2 separate regions of the Homo sapiens genome follow, and region 1 is linked to region 2. Evidence: promoter capture Hi-C in human tissues and cell types (Jung and others, 2019). All regions are on one chromosome and are shown on one strand. The core of a region is centred on a gene start or on the middle of the fragment in contact, and the rest is flanking DNA. Distances in the headings are between cores, read along the strand shown. Region 1 overlaps PGBD5 (piggyBac transposable element derived 5). Region 2 holds the start of CCSAP (centriole, cilia and spindle associated protein).

Region 1 (4,095 bases), core at 1,271-3,770, 1.0 Mb after region 2:
TCACTGAATGGTCCGCTCCTATCACCATTGTTCAGGATGTTCATTCTATCCCAAGGATCACTGCAAACACACAACTCCAGGGTCAGAGCCTGAATGCTGTGCCCGAGGTCTGGGGCTGAGGCAGGTGACTCAGTTTTCTCCTCTACAGAATAAAGGGGTTGGACTAGGGATGTCTAAGGTTCTTTCTGGCTCTTTAAAAAAAACTAATTGCTTTCTCCAGGCAATAAGCAGGTCCTAACTTCATTGCTACTATTCCTACTGTAAGAAAGGGATAATCCTCCTTTGCTCACAAGACTGTCAGAAGGAGGCCTGGGATGGCATTTGTAAAGTGCTTAACACAGGGCCAGGCACTGACTAAGTGCTTAATAAACAGCAGCTACAATTACGGTCAGCTAGCAAGTAAGGGCCCACTCACAGAGAAAGGGCACTTCTCTGGGCATAGAGCTTCCTGCCTTTGGTGCAGAGCAGAGGTCAGTCTGGCTGGGTGCAGAAAAAGGCCCTTCCTAACTCCAAGTGCATACAGCCCCTAGATGAATGAGCTCCTAAATGCATAAGTGTAAGGTGCTGAGATTGACTACCTTGAAGCAAATGCCTTGAGATAAGAAGGAATGGTGGTTTACCTCCAACAGAAGAGAGGGACAGATGTCCTGCAGATGACTTAACCCTGATTCCAACATTGTGTGCCACTGTGGTTTGCAGAATCAGAGAGGTGAGCAGTGACTGTCATAGGCACAAAGAAGCAATGGCCATCCAGGTGAAATGCTGACATCAACACGTGATAAATCCTTCATAAAGGCAGAAGCTGTGATGATGATGATGAAGATGCCAATAACACATGGATGAAAAGATCTCTTGCCCAGAGCTGGAAGGGCCTTACTAAGACAGCTGTACCTGTGAATGAATCGCTTGGCTGCAGATCCCGGCCGGGCACTATGCTGAGCAACTGCAGCTCAGGTCCTGCAGAGTCCCCGAGAGTACTTTGCACGAAGAGAGCTCGAGTTCTGTAGTCAGGCATATCTGACCTACCGAACAGGTGCCCTGGTCAAGGTACATAATCCCACACAGCCTTCATTTCCCCATCTGTAAAATGGCAAAGATTAGAGTATCCACCTCAAAGAGTCATTGTGAGAATAAAATGAAATACTGTGCATAAAGCACAGTGCAGCATCCGGCTCATACATTTGGGATAAGCACTGGCCATCATTATGAATGCCGTCTGATGCAATGCTAGCATTTTGGGCATGTGCCTCCCAGTGCAGACATGGTAATCAGGCTCTTTCTTAAAGACCAGTGAGGCCAAATAAGAATGCAACTCTGGCTTGAATTTGAGTCTGAGGAGGAGCAATGTGATATTTATACAGACTGAAAATAGAAAACATGCACTCCTCATTGAGATCCCTTTCTGGCTACTCCTTTGAGTCCAAGTACAGAAAGCTCAGCAGGTGAGCATGTCACACGTTAGCAGACAAATACCAAACATACTTTTACTTCTGGAATCAAGAGCAGCAGAAGTTATTCTGGGAATGTTCATGTTCCTCCTGGTGGTGATGAGGATTTTAAGCTACCACATGGGACCTAGTATTGGACTGCTTCTATGCCCACCTTCCCTGGCCTCTCCGGTAGACACAGGATCTAACACAGCACAAAGAAATCAAATCACTGCCATTGCAGGGATTATAATGAAATGGTCATCAGGTGGTTCCTTCATAAACAGGATTTGCTGTCAAGTTAATGCTGAGTACAAAGATAAAATAGCCTCCTCCCGTCTTCCATCCCCTAAGGTCATAACTCAATCCCTTTTCTCTCTGTATTCAGAAATCTCCCAGTTACCTGGAGCCACATTGCTAGTTCATATATGCTCACCTACAAGCACCTGAGCATGCCTTTAGGGTCTGGGAAGAAATGACATCAGTAGTATAGCTTGGAGATGGGAGCTGGGATTTCTCCTGATTGTGTGTAGTTCTCTGAAGGAAGGTGCCACCTCTCTCTCCACCTCTGTTTGAACCACCGCCTACTTCTTGCCTGTTCTCTGTAAACCCTGCAAGGACAAATGCCCCCATAAAAGCTCTTCTCTGAGCTGCAGTACAGCCCTGAGCATGGAAGCTTCCCTTGCAGCCCGTAGATCTCAGCATGGCCAACATTTCCTGAAATGGGCAAAGACCATAATGTCTGGATGAGATAAGAAACCCTTTCACAGGCCTTCAGTCCTTCAGTCTTCTCAATAACCCTATGAATAGGGTTGATATTACTGTCTTTCATAAAGACACTGATGAGTCAACCCAAAGAAAGCAGCCATTGCCTGAGGTCCCAAGGTGATGTATGTACAAGGTGAAAGGAGCTGATGGCCAAGTCACGAGCCTGCAGAGCTGCAGCCACCTTGAGGGGACGTTTTTCTGTTCAACAAAGCCACCCCAAGGACTAGGGGGAGCCTAAGGGAACCCATCTGATGCCTCACAACCAACCATGGCCTCACTCACATGACTTCCGATTCTTACTTCCAGTCCAGCCACTGTCCTGAGCCAATCCCTAGATGTCCAACTCTAGGGGAGGAAAGACTGCGCCCAGCATGCCAAACCTCACCCACCTGCTGCCTGCCCAACCTGCTCTCCTGCTTTGTGACCAGCACCCCATTCACTTAGTAATTCATGCCACAACCCTGGCGACCTCCTTTCAACCCCTGCTCCTCACCTCCACTTCCACATCCCATCCACAAGCTCCACGTTCAAATTACTCTCTCCAAGTCCCATCTGCCCATTCCAGGATGCCGGCTCTCCACCAGGTCCCCTCAGGATCTCTTCAGGCTGACTGTAGTAGCCTGCTAATCAGACTCTGTTTCCATCATTATTAGAATTAACTTTCAAAAACACAATTCTCATCATACCATACCCCTCACTGAAATGCCCCATTGGCTCTTCAATGCCTACCTCCACTTTCTGTACCTTTTCAGTTTCAGCTGTACTAAAATACTCATGTTCACCAGCATGCAATGCCCTTCAGGCCTCCTTGCTCTTGCATTGTTAACTGGTCATCTTCCACACACTCATTCCTACTTCAATACCCAGCTCAACTAGCCTGTTGGCACCCCAGAGGTAGTTCCTCCTTCCTCTGCACCCTCGTAGTGATCGATCCACCTCTCTGATTTGATAAACAGAGCCAACAGTTACCAACCATGTCCTCTACAGTGCGAGGTGCTTTTCTAGGCACTGACACATGTTGGCTCATTTAATCTGCATCCTCCCCTCTGAAATCTTATCATCATCCCCATTTTACAGATGAAGAAAACTGAAGCCAGAGATTCAGGGACTTGCCCAAGTGGCGGGATTTGAACCCAGGAAGTCTGGCTCCTGCACCTCATTTCTTCATTACTACCCTCAGCATACTGGATTGTAATTACTGATTTCATGTTTATCTACTGTGCAGAGCTGGACAGGGCTAGGCAATTCCACAGAGCAGGGGCCGTGTGCTATTTACATTTGCAGACCCAGAGTGCAGCAAATGTCACACACCTGGTAGGAGTTTGTGATGCATCTGTCCAAAGGCAGATAGGAGGCCAGCTCCAGATGAATGGGTCTGCTAGATACTTTCTAAGTTAATTAAGTCAAATGGACTTCCCTTGTAATCACAGGATAGAAAACAAAGCCCTGTGTGGAAGAGACAGGCAGTACTTTCATGCCATTTTCCTTTACTTAATTACACAGAGAAATTAATCCTACTGTGAGTTACTAATTCAGATGCCAGACCAGTGTCACTGGCAGCCACAGGGCGCTCTGCCTCCCTGTGCTGGGCCCTCTGGGCAGGGCATACCTAAGTGGGGCCCTGCAGGGTTCCTTCCAGGTGCTCACCCTAAAGGCTGGTCACTTGTGGTGGAAACTGACACCCACCACTACCGTCTTGGGCAGAACCAGCACCTCCTTCCCCTCCCGGCTCTCCAAGTGGACATAAGCAACAGCCCCTCACTCTTGCTGCCAAGAATCTGTGCATCTGCAGGAAGGAGAAAGGAGATGCAAGGTACTATCCATGCCAAGCCCAGGTTATGGCTTTAGGGTTTCCAAAGAAAACCCTGTAAGCAAATGCACACCTGGTGAAGAGGGAAGC
Region 2 (4,225 bases), core at 881-3,380:
CGGGCATGGTGGCTCACTCCTGTAATCCCAACACTTTGGGAGGCCGAGGCGGGCGGATCACGAGGTGAGGAGTTTGAGACCAGCCTGACCAACATGGTGAAACCCCGTCTCCACTAAAAATACAAAAATTAGCCGGGCGTGGTGGCGCGTGCCTGTAATCCCAGCTACTCGGGAGGCTGAGGCAGGAGAATGACGTGAATCCGGGAGGCAGAGGTTGCAGTGAGCCGAGATCGCGCCACTGCGCTCCAGCCTGGGCCACAGAGCGAGACTCCGTCTCAAAAAAAAAAAAAAAAAAAGATTACAACATGGTCTCTTTTGGGATTGTTTTGAATATTAAATGACAACATACATATTCCCAGATCAGTGACTGAATGTCTAACAGGCTCCCAATACATTTTCCATGTTTTCCTCACTCGAGCCTTTTTAAAATCCAGTGATCTGGAAGGAACCATTGGTTACTCCAGGCTGTACTGAGGCGTTCAACTGGGTCCCCAGCCCTGCAAGCCTCTGGGCAGGAAAGAAGGTGAAGGGGCCATGCCTTGAAAACACGCGCAGCGCCACCGGCGCTTTCGGATCTGGACAGGCGAGGGAGGATGGGGAGGGACGGAAGGGGAGAGGCCCTAGCACTTATAAAGATGCTCTCACAGCCAAGTTATTCAACACTCCACGTAAACAAATGCAAAATATTCTTTAGGGACAGCGTAGCGAGGTCGGGGAGTTAATACGGAAAACAATGGCCCCATTCATCAGACAAAGCTTAGCTCTGTGGTTCTTAACCTTTTGGGTTACCTTTGAGAATCTGATTAAAGCTGGGGCTCCTCTGATCAAAAATGGGCGCCTAGAAATAAGCAGATGGGACTCAGTGGTTCGCCAAGAAATAAGATGGGATTCAGAGGTTTGCCAAGCCGCAGAGGCCCGCGAGGAAAGACCCCAGACTCAGCCAGCGGCGCTTCAATTGAGTTCACCGCTGGCTCGACCGAAAGCCACCTAATTAAGGAAATAAAGGGTGGCAAAGGCTGCCACCTTCCCTATTTTGTCAAGAGAGACGGATTCTGTCAACCGAAAAAAAAAAAAGGAAGAGCCAGCCCCGAGTGGCGCAAGAAATAAGAGATCAGCTGCTCAGAGCTTAGAGCAAACCGTCCCTGCGTGCAGGCCCCTCGCGCTCCCCTCCGGGCCGGGTACCTGGCAGAGCCGCGTCCTCCGCGTCCTCGGCCTCCGCGTCCCCGGCCTCCGCGTCCTGCTCCTCCGGGGCCCCGCGCGCCCGCCGTTCCGCCTCCTCCTGGGTCGCCGGCTCTACGGGCGGCGGGGGCGAGGGCGGGGCGCACCGGGGTGCGGGGCCCCCGGCGCCCGACGACTCTGACGACGCCGAGTCCTCCGAGGAGCCGGCCGGGCCCCAGTCGTCCCAGAGCCAGGGCGCGTGCGCCTGCTCCAGCAGCCGGCGGCCTAGGCGGTAGTGCAGCAGCTCGCGGTAGCACGGCCCGTACTCCTCCCAGCGCGGCTCCTGGTAGCGCTTCATGTACTCGCTCTTCACCCCGCTCCCCGGGGACATGGTGCCGTCCGCCGCCTCGAGCGCCAGCCGCTCCTCGCTGCCCGCAGCCTACGGGACCCGGTACACGACACAGAGGCCGCCCCGCCCCTCCGCCGGCCCTGCCCGCCGCGACGTTTAAACCCGGAGCCCCGCCCGGACGGGAGCAGGGGGCGGGTCCCGGCGAGGGCGGGGAGGGGGCGGGGCGGGGGCGGCCTCACCCGGCGGCCGGGACCAAGAGCAGAGGCGGGGACCGGGGCTGCTGGGGTCGAGGGGCGCGCCGCCGAGGAGGGCTGCTCAGTGGGCGGAAGGCAGGGAGGCTGCGGGCTGGGGCGAGGGGACCGCAGGAGACTGGGGCTGAGCGGGAGGAGGAGCGAGGGAGGGGAGCGGCGGGGCCCGTGATCGGGTGGTCCTGGGGTCTCCGGAGGCGTCCCCTGAGCTAGGCGTGCGGTCCCGCGGGGCTGCCTTACCTCCTTCCCGCCGCGCCCGGCCGATCCTCTGCGCCCAGGCCCGAGGCGCGCGTGGCGCAGCAGCTAAAGCGCAGCTCGCTCTCCCGCGCGCTTTCCTCCTGAGCAAGATGTCGCCGCGGCGGCCCGCGCTCCAGCTGCAGGCGGGAGGCGGTGGCGCCGCCTCAGTCCCGGAGCCTCCACGCGCGCTCCCGGCCCCCGGGCCTCCGCCCGCTCCGTGGGGGCGGCTGCTTCCGTAGAGAGCGCGAGGCGCGGGGGTGCGGGCGTGCCTGCCAGTCCGAGGGGCCCAGGCCCAGGTCCCTGGCCCACTTATTTGAGGTGCCCGTCCACCCTGGTCCCAGCAGACGCTGTCCCAGGCACGCGTCACTCTGCAGGAGTCGTCAGTTAGGGGCAAGAGATGATCCCTCCAGATATGCAGCCCCCCCAGGCTGCGGCCGGGGGCGACACTCTCTGTCCTCACTCGAAACCTACCGGTTCTTCCTCTCTGTGTTCACAACACCTGTTACTCTGGCTTTAACTCCCTTTTATATCTACACTCCCCAAATTCTTTTAGATTTTGATCAAAACCATTTCACTCGCTCAGAGATTCGTTTGCACATAAAAGCTTGACAGATTAACTTACGTTGTGCAGAAGTATACAAAGTTGTCCCATTTGTTACAGTTTCAAAAGTGGCCCCACACTCTTTTCCCTTTTTACACATAAAACCTTCACAGATCCAGTTACTTTGTGCAGAAGTATACAACGTTGCCCCATTTGTTACAGTTTCAAAAGTGGCCCCGCACTGTTTTCCCTTTTTGCTCATAAAACCTCCACAGATCCGGCTGAGCGCTGTGGCTCACGCCTGTAATCCCAGCATTTTGGGAGGCCGAGGCGGGTGGCTCACGAGGTCAGGAGATCGAGACCATCCTGGCTAACACAGTGAAACCCCATCTCTACTAAAAAAATAAAAATAAAAAGAATTAGCCCGGCGTGGTGGTGAACGGCTGTAGTCCCAGCTACTCGGGAGCCTGAGGCAGGAGAATGGCGTGAACCCGGGAGGCGGAGCTTGCAGTGAGCCTAGATTGCGCCACTGCACTCCAGCCTGGGCGACAGAGCAAGACTCCGTCTCAAAAAAAATAAAAAATAAAAAATAAAAACCTTCACAGATCCAGTTACATTGTACAGAAGAATACAACGTTGCCCCATTTGTTACAGTTTCAGAAGTGGTCCTGCACTATTTTCCCTTTCTTAAAAAAAGAGCCTTGATACAGTAGCTGCAAAAAGATTTGAAAGGAAAAAACTTTTGGAAAATCTAAATATATATATAGCAGTTAAAAAGCAAGCCCAGGCCGTGAGTAGCGCTCACGGCTTCCACGTCAGGATTCCCACGAATTCACCTACTTTCTACGTGTCCGCATCCTGCCTCCCACCACCACCGCCCACCTCATCATAGCTAAATGATTCAGAGGCGGCTACTGGCCCAAATGGGGCGGGTCAGACCGTCTGCTCTGAAAACTTGAAGTTACTAGTCCAATCATTAGCACGGGATTGTGTTAATGGCAGTTTTCTGGACGGAAACTCCAGGATACCCTGCTGCTAATGAGTCCGCGGACGCCATGATTTCTCCCCTTCCCAACTTTATTTTCTGTTCCTTGACTTACATTAGGGACATTCTAATGCACTTTCCTTTTGTTTAAGCTGGCTGGGGTTGGTTTCTGATGTTTGCAACCAAAGTAGCCTTAATAAAGATTGAATAAGGTGGGGAAATGGTTATATGTAGTTCTATGGGACATGCAGGACACCATCGGTTTCAGCTTTTGCTGCATAATTCACTCCAAAACTCAGTGGTTTAAAACAGCTAAGATTTATTATTTCTTATGATTCTGAGGGTTAGCTGGGCAGTTCCTCCGCAGTTGGATTCTGATGGAGAGACAGCAGGGCTGGAAGTTTCAAGATGACCTCCTGATATAGTTGGGATAATTCCTCCAAATCTGAAGTTGAAATTGATCCCCAATGTTGGAGGTGGGGCCTAGTGGGAAGTGTGTGGGTCATGGGGGCAGATCCCTCATGCATGGCTTGGTGCCATTCTTCAGTAACGAGTGAGTTCTCACTCTTTTAGTTTGCATGAGAGCTTGTTGTTCAAAAAGAGCCTGGCATGTCCTCCTCTCTCTCTCTCACTCCCTTTCTCTCTCCATGTGACATGACAGCTCCCCTTCCCCTTCCACCATGATTGGAAGCTCCCTGAGGCCTCAC

Evidence for each region. The method cuts DNA at HindIII sites, captures the fragments that hold promoters and counts their contacts. A contact is called where the count stands out against the background at its distance.
Region 1: a fragment that was not itself captured here is called in contact with the fragment with the promoter of CCSAP in region 2 in 1 of the 25 tissues and cell types used here (hippocampus).

What each region holds. Positions count from the first base shown.
Region 1 is chr1:230,376,607-230,380,701 of GRCh38, forward strand. The region is part of intron 1 of PGBD5 (piggyBac transposable element derived 5); the gene reads right to left. Among named protein-coding and RNA genes, the nearest start is that of PGBD5, 48 kb to the right of the region's middle. The HindIII fragment of the contact is 4,664 bases long and covers 189-4,095 here.
Region 2 is chr1:229,340,917-229,345,141 of GRCh38, forward strand. It overlaps CCSAP (centriole, cilia and spindle associated protein), which reads right to left and starts at 2,131. Exons shown (of 4, transcript NM_145257.5): 1 at 1,996-2,131; 2 at 1,183-1,597. The coding sequence starts at 1,549. RefSeq lists silencers at 1,180-1,379, 1,580-2,439, 3,286-3,580. The HindIII fragment of the contact is 5,214 bases long and covers 1-4,225 here.